2 separate regions of the Homo sapiens genome follow, and region 2 is linked to region 1. Evidence: promoter capture Hi-C in 16 types of primary human blood cells and fetal thymus (Javierre and others, 2016). All regions are on one chromosome and are shown on one strand. The core of a region is centred on a gene start or on the middle of the fragment in contact, and the rest is flanking DNA. Distances in the headings are between cores, read along the strand shown. Region 1 holds the start of NCEH1 (neutral cholesterol ester hydrolase 1). Region 2 has its middle 21 kb from the start of GHSR.

The links. Contacts are between HindIII fragments. The CHiCAGO score rates a contact against its expected background, and 5 or more counts as called.
Region 2: a fragment that was not itself captured here is called in contact with the fragment with the promoter of NCEH1 in region 1 in 1 of 17 cell types (total B cells); the score reaches 6.4 in total B cells.

The regions. Positions count from the first base shown.
Region 1 is chr3:172,708,544-172,712,601 of GRCh38, reverse strand. It overlaps NCEH1 (neutral cholesterol ester hydrolase 1), which reads left to right and starts at 1,535. Exons shown (of 5, transcript NM_020792.6): 1 at 1,535-1,755. The coding sequence starts at 1,618. RefSeq lists enhancers at 1,085-1,224, 1,269-1,563, 1,485-1,754, 884-2,083. The HindIII fragment of the contact is 17,687 bases long and covers 1-3,416 here.
Region 2 is chr3:172,466,987-172,470,944 of GRCh38, reverse strand. No RefSeq gene overlaps it. Among named protein-coding and RNA genes, the nearest start is that of GHSR, 21 kb to the right of the region's middle. RefSeq lists a silencer at 3,420-3,620. The HindIII fragment of the contact is 2,891 bases long and covers 478-3,368 here.

The DNA of each region.
Region 1 (4,058 bases), core at 286-2,785:
AAAATCAGCCAGGTGTGGTGGTGGGCACCTGTAATCCCACCTACTGAGGAGGCTGAGGCAAGAGAATTGCTTGAACCCAGGAGGTGGAGGTTGCAGTGAGCTGAGATCGTGCCATTGCACTCTAGCCTGGGCGAAAAGAGCAAGACTCCGTCTCAAAAAAAACAAAAAACAAACACCAAAAACAAACAAAACAAAAAAAAAAGAGAGAGAGAACTTGCTTGAAATACCATGAAAGTGTGCCCTTCTTATCAGTTTTCCTTCAATGTTGAAGAAGAAGCCAACTGTTTCCTAAAAATCTCATTATCAGAACCAAATTTATGGTTATTTCACTTCTATTAATTTGATTAAATTAAAATTACCATCTTAAGATGCATAATTATATATACTAGGTGTTTTAAGACCTTCATCAATAAGTTTGGAGTTGTCATCCTACCACTTTCTTGAAACAGGTCTTCTAACTGTTTTCCTTCTGGATTTCTGGTTGAAATTTTGCTAGTGAAGTTTTCTCTCTCCCATTCAGTACTCACCCACCCCTCCTCACCCCCAATCATTAACAAGAAATCTGGGTTTAAGTGTATTTCTGCTACCATTGACTCACTGAAAGAATTTTTCAGGTGATATCCACACGTTTCTCCAATAAAAAGTTATTATTTTTTCCCTTTGTAGTAATTTGTGGAGAGATCTTCTGATGAAGGACCAAAATTCTGTGTCAAATTTTTACCCTCTAGTTTTAGCATTCATTTATGATTTTCTATGGATACTAGCTGGCATTCTATTTTAAGAAAAGCCTTTCTTCTTTCCTCATTTATTTATATTAATATAGATTGTTGAGTTTTATTTTAATCAATGGGTTATCCATTATGATGATTTATATTGATGGTAAAATTATCCCAGCTTCAGCCACTGGGAGACCCTTCAAGCTGGCAGCTGTGGACCTTTGACCAGTTCCTATCATTTTTTGAGCACTTCCGCATCTCTGGCACAACAGGTTCATCTTGTACTTTACAGCCCCAGCCCTGGTATCAGCCTTTTCTCCAGAGGTTGTGTCAAAAAGCCGTGGTTCCTCTTATTGGAGCATAGGATTTAGAAACCAAGACTTGGGTGCTAGATGTACTACTGGCCTTTCATTGCTTGAGCCAGAAGAATTTAATATCTTCTTTTGCCATATATCAGCTAGAACTTACAAACCACTCCAAGTCTGGCTCCAGAAAACAGAATTTTTATATCCTTTCTCAGTACTCTGAGTCAGAATGACCCACTTGCTTTGTCCAGAGACTCGTCACACTGAAACTATTTTCCGTTTGAGACCTTCCAGGAGGAAAGCCATCCTCACACGCATGCAGTACAAACCAGTGTCCTCCAGAGTCCGCTGTGCCTACGGCCAGAGCAGCGACAGAGCCTTCCTCAAACCTGTAGTGACTGCCACACTTTGCAAGGACACCGTAGAGGGGGCATGTCCGCGCTCCAACTTCCTCCCGACGCAGCCTCTGATTGGCTCCTGGGCTTATAAGAAACGCGTGAATGAGCAGCTGCCGCGGGCAGAAAGTTGCCGGAGGTCTCCGGGTGGTATCGCCCTTTCCTCTTTGCCAGCCCGCTGGCGAGCCGAGCCAGGGCAAGATGAGGTCGTCCTGTGTCCTGCTCACCGCCCTGGTGGCGCTGGCCGCCTATTACGTCTACATCCCGCTGCCTGGCTCCGTGTCCGACCCCTGGAAGCTGATGCTGCTGGACGCCACTTTCCGGGGTGCACAGCAAGTGGTGAGGTGCAGCCCAGCGCTGCTTCTCTCTTCCTCCTCTTACGCAATATTTGAAGGGGATACAAAATTCCTCCGCCGGGTTCCACGAAAACGCAGGTTTTTCCTAATGCATTGAGGCTGTCGCTTTTTGAGGTGGTCCAGTCGGGAATTTTCAGGGTATCGCATTCGCCTCCTTGCTAGCAGCGGGCTAGATCTGCATTTCCCCGTCTGCGTTTGTGACGGGGAAGAAGTGCTTGAATAGAATTTGACAACTGTTTAAACCTTCGTCTGTCCTAAATATCTTCCTCTTCCTTGGTTTGCAACGTCAAAAGGCAAATCCTTAAGCAGTTTATAAACCACCCTTCTTCACACTGTCGTTCTCCCATAGGGACCGGCAGAGGATAAATATTTTTAGGAGAGCTCGGGAAAAGCAGGCTCTGGTTCCTGGGAATGCAGCCACCTTAGAAGCAGAAGCAGGCAAGGGCAGTCTCGCAATGTCCCCAGGCTGTGGAGCGCTCCGTTCCCGGAGACAGCAGGCAGGGCTCTCCATCCAAGCACTTGAGGAACCATAGGGATCTCTCGTTTCACCCGAGGCAGATCTCAGCTCAGCCCAAGAAAGAGGACTGGGAGGCTGGGCTGGCTGAAAGGAGGTGAGGAGGCGGCAGCCCTGGTTTGCATGATGCATGTTTTCTGCTTGCCCTGCAGCATTTATTTTATGTCCTTGGCTGTCAGATAACCTTTTCCTGAGCGAGGTTACCTGCCTTAACCTGGGAGGGTAACATTTCTCTCCACTGTATCATGGGCGTGTGTTCATTCCTTCCATACACAGGAAAATATAACTGTCTCTGGTTTATTCCATGGTAAGAGGCATTATTTTTAGTGTCAGAGAATCTAAAATCTAAACTACAGTCTGCAGCCAAGGCTGAGCCCTCTGATTGGACAGTATTTCTGAGCAGCCTGCTCTATCTAAACTCTAACCTTCTCCAAAACCAAGCCTCCTCCCTCCCCACAACCTTGGGCTTTAATCTCAGAATATTTTTATAAACTCTTTCTTTCAGAAATGACAACTAGAGAAAGAGAAAAAAAATCATTTCAACCTGAGAAAGCTGATTTTAAAAAAGTCATGATTTTCCCAGAGGGTTTATGTTCCTGTTCCCTGTCCACTCATTATGTGTAGGATTACATAATCTGTGGGGCTTTATCCTATGAAAAGTCCCCTTACTAGGATATTGCAGCACATTCCTAGCGTGGATTTGCTTTTCCTGAATTCAGCCACATTCTCACCTCCAAAGCCCCTTTTGTCTCTTAGGAAAGGTCTATGAAGCTATAGACCCCTGCCCCCCTTCTTTTCCTCTTGCTTCCTATAATGTTGACATGGTGAAAATGATCATCCCCTTCTTTAGCACTGGTGTCAAGAAAGTCAGTCTTGTTGTAGGAAGCCTTGCATTCCCTCTCCTCCCCCATGAAATTATGTAATTTGAAAGTAATACCCTTCAAAGATTGAGGAACAGTGATGTTTACCTGGGTGGGTTAATGGTCTACTACAATAACTTAAACAGAGGAAAACAGGAAAAAGATCAAACTGCTGTGTTGGCTGCAGAGATTATTCTTAGTTTTCAGGTCACCAAAGAAGTCTTCTCCATCATAAGTTAATCTCGGACAAGCTAGGTTTGGAGAAAAGCTTTTCTTTCCCAGCTAGGCTTGCCAGCCCATTAAGGACAAGGCTGTGTAAGGTCCTCCACAGAGTATACCCTCAGGTGGTGCTTGGGAATGATAGTGGGTGTAACCTGAAGTCAGCAATAGATGAGGTAACCAGTGTTCTCACCTGACACTGTGGCTCAGGAGTGGATTTGCAGAAAAATGGCTCTTATCACTTCTCCTCTAAATTGTGAAATATCAGAAAGATCATTATGATCAGATGGAAACATATTCTACCCAATAAAGCAATTTTCCAGTGTCACCTCAAATCTTCCTGAGTTTTCCCTGTAAAATAGGGCAAAAAACTACCTTGTAGGTTTGCTATAAGGTTTAGTAATGTATTTAAGTGCCTGGTACTTGTAGTGAGTCTTCTAGTTGTCCCCAAGGGTCCATTGTGGATTGTGGGAACATCTATAAGAATGCTTACCTTTTTTGAAGCAATAAAATAAATGTAAACTGGAAGTAATTTATGTGATTGAAACCTGGAGTGCTACTACTAAATTACCTGGTGTCATGGCCTGGGGCGGTGGCTCACGCTGTAATCCCAGCACTTTGGGAGGCCGAGGCGGGTGGATCACGAGGTCAGGAGTTCGAGACCAGCAGCCTGGCCAACATAGTGAAACCTCT
Region 2 (3,958 bases), core at 674-3,173, 240 kb after region 1:
TACATAAATGTTCACTGTGTATTATTCATAGTGAATGGTGAATGTATTATTGAGGAGTACTTTTTTTTCCTGTAGAGCTTTGAATGGGCAAGGAACTTGGAGATAAGAAAAGCAGTAACTAGCTTATTATGGCAATTTTGTAGTACTTTCAGTGACATATTTTGAGGTGAGTGACATATTCATGACAGGGATATTAGAGAAAGCCTAGTCACTTCCTCCCTTCTCTATTTAAAATTTTCATTTAAATTTTTTGAACACAATAGACAAGAGAATACGATGCATAATGGATGTGGACTAATGGAAGAGTCAAAAGTCTATATGAGTTCATCTTCCTCTCCCATGTAATACTGACACAAACTTCAAAAAGAAAATTAGTATAAACATTACTTGTATTTGGAGGTGAATATTGACTTCATTAGGAAGATTATACCTAAGTCCTCTCTTTCATTATTCTGCTAATCCTTTCCAGAAGAAGCTTTCCTTAAAAAAATATAGGGCAAGAGAATTGATACTTTTACATAATCTTGGTAAGAATGAATTATTCTTTTTAACTCTAAAAGTTCACAATTTTTTGTGCCATTCTGCAGAATGTTTCACTTAAAAACTAAACTAAATAAATATAAAAATATACCATATTTTCTTTAATTTTCCATGAATTACCACTAAAAGAAATGTTGACAATTTGTCATTCCTTGGGATATTATAGAGACAAAGATTTTCTGTATTCTTTATACTAATGTGATAATAATTATTATTATCATTCTTTGTAGTAATTCAATAAAAAGTTATAATCACCACATTTGGAAGGCTCTAAAATGTGTCCAAACAAAAGAGAATAAAAACAAGAATTTTATTTTTAATGATACAAGAGGGAAAAAAACAGAGCATCCAAGGTTTTTGTGTGCGTGTGTGTGTGTGTTTGTTTTGTTTTTGTTTTTGTTTTTTTTAGTTTAAGTTCTAGAATACATGTGCAGAACGTACAGGTTTGTTACATAGGTATACATGTGCCGTGGTGGTTTGCGGCACCTATCAACCTATCACCCAGGTTTTAAGCCCCGCATGCATTAGTTATTTGTCTGAGCATCAGAGGTTTTTTTGTTTTTTTGGGTTTTTTTTTTGAGATGGAGTCTCTCTCTGTCACCCAGGCTGGAGTGCAGTGGCACAATCTCAGCTCACTGCAACCTCCACCTCCTGGGTTCAAGTGATTTCCCTGCCTCAGCTGGGATTACAGGCATGCGCCACCATGCCCAGGTAATTTTTTTAGTAGAGACAATGTTTCACCATATTGGCCAGGCTGGTCTTGAATTCCTGACCTCAAGTGATCTGCCCACCTTGGCCTCCCAAAGTGCTGGGGTTACAGGTGTAAGCCACCACACCTGGCTGCATCAGAGGTTTTTAAACAAACTTTGAATATTTTCCACATGTGAAGATGAAGTGATAAGGGCAAAATTGTTTTCTGTAAAACTGGTTCTCATGTTTTGCTTTGATAATTAAAGAATCCTAAATTAAATAACAACAAACTGCCTGAAAATCTGATAACAAAAACTCAAAATTATCTTGTGATAATTTTTCTAAATTTATTAGAAGGTCTGATGATCTTACTACAATCCCTGGTGCCAATTTTAAAGTGATTGATTTAGTAGACTGTAATATAAAGTATAGGCAAATTCTAATTTGCCTGAGGTGTATAAAACATTCTGACTTATTCATTAGGCTTGCCTAATATTTTAAGACGATATCCATGCAGTCTTCATAGAGTCCATAAAATAATTTACCAGTACACAGTCTATATATACTACCTCAGAGAGAGATCAGTGCAGCAGAAACATCATGCTGTTTCTTTTCCTTTTTCTTTTCTTTTTTTTTTTTTTTGAGACTGAGTCTCGCTCTGTCGCCCAGGCTGGAGTGCAGTGGCGCGATTTCGGCTCACGGCAAGCTCCTCCTCCCGGGTTCACGCCTTTCTCCTGCCTCAGCCTCCCGAGTATCTGGGACTACAGGCGCCCGCCAACACGCCTGTTTCTTCTTAACCTGTATAGACAAGTGAGGAACCCAGATGCAATTTGCCCACAGCAACTTATCAGTGAATGTTCCAGTTGGTAGGGTTCCAGTGGCATTGAACAGAACATTGAACTCAGTTGGCGTAGAAAGATAGCATAAAAAGCCTAAGGTAACATGATTCTGGGCTTAGTTAAGTCATTGGCACCTGCCCATCATTTAGGACCCAGGTTCTCTTCATTCTTCTGCTGTGCTTTGCTCATCATGTTAGCTTTTGACTCTGGCTTGCAGGATGGCTGCAGCAGCTTCAAGTACTTTACAACAGAAAAAATCTCTCTTGTATCCCCTTTTAAGACAGAAAAACTCTCCCCTAGTCACTGTTCAGAATTCTAGACATGCCCATTCTTAAATCATTCACTGGTAGGGAAAATAGAATTTCTATGTTGGACTTAGATTAATGAAGATTATCCTCCCTAGAGCTAGGGGAAGGTTCAGTCTTTTCTAAAGTATGCAGTATCCTGATAGCTGAACAAAATCAAGGTTCTGATTGCAGGAAAGACGAGTGGACAGAATGGCTGCAGGATAGGTGGTCACTAATGTCTGCTATGTTGAGTCAGAGGAAGAGCCTAAAAAGAATTGGTTCCAAAAGCAGGGCTGGGGCGGCCGGGAGCAGTGACTCACACCTGTAATCCCAGCACTTTGGGGAGCCGAGGGGGGCGGATCACGAGGTCAGGAGATTAAGACCATCCTGGCTAACCCGGTGAAACCCCGTCTCTACTAAAAAATACAAAAAATCAGCCGGGCGTCGTGGTGGGCGCCGGTAGTCTCAGCTACTCGGGAGGCTGAGGCAGGAGAACGGCGTGAACCTGGGAGGAGGAGCTTGCAGTGAGCCGAAATCGCGCCACTGCACTCCAGCCTGGGCGACAGAGTGAGACTCTGTCTCAAAAAAAAAAAAAAAAAAAAAAATGCAGGGCTGGGGCTTCCAGGGTATTTATTCTGGGGTAAGAGCATGAATATTAAAAAATAACTGGGCAATGCTATTCCCTTTTTCCTGATTTGAAATGGCAGCCTCAACACCTGACGATTTTTCAGGGAAGGGTAAAATACCATGATGATGTCTCTTAAAAGAAACAAGAAATTCCCTACATGGAGGTACCAGTGGTTTGGTATATTTGTAACTAAAATAAATTTGGGGAGATATAAAATTGAATCAATTAGGACACTTTCAGCTTCAGTTCACAGAAACCTCATTTCTGATGGGGTTACACAGTAAGAAAAGAGATCCTTCACGGGAAGTCCAAAGGCAGGGCATGATCCATGGTTGGTCGATTTGGCTCTTTCCATCTTTTGGTTCTACCTTCCTTAGTTAAGCTTCATCCTCAGGCTGGTGGCTGTAGTGATTTCAGATATCACACAGCCATTCCAGGCAGTGGCCAGGGGCAGACCAGCAGCTGCTTATTAAGAGTGGGAGGAATTTTCCCAGATGTCCTCAGTATACCTCCTCTCCATACTGGCCAGAGGTGAGTCATAGTTCATTCTTGAGTCAATCACTGACAGGAAGATTGGCTTAGTAAACATCTAGGGTGTGAGAATTCTTATTGTAGGTTTGTTTTCACTGTGATTGGAAAAACCAATTTTCTCTTACCTCTGTAATTCTAGCTAATCTAAGCTAATCTAAATCAGAGGTCAGCAAACAAATCTGACTCATCACAAGTTTTGGTAAGTAAAGTTTTATTGGAACACAGCTGCATCCAATGAGGTTTTAGGCAGGGGAATGTCTGGATTAGATTTGTATTTCCCAAAGATCACTGGCTGCAGGTGGCAAATAGATTGTGGAACAACAGTGGACAGAGAGAGATCAGTCCCTTGGGTATTGTAGCAGTTCTAGTGGGGGATTTGGAGGCATTGGTGGTAGAGATGGTGAAAAGTAACTAGAACCCTATGTGAACTGACTGGCTTTCCA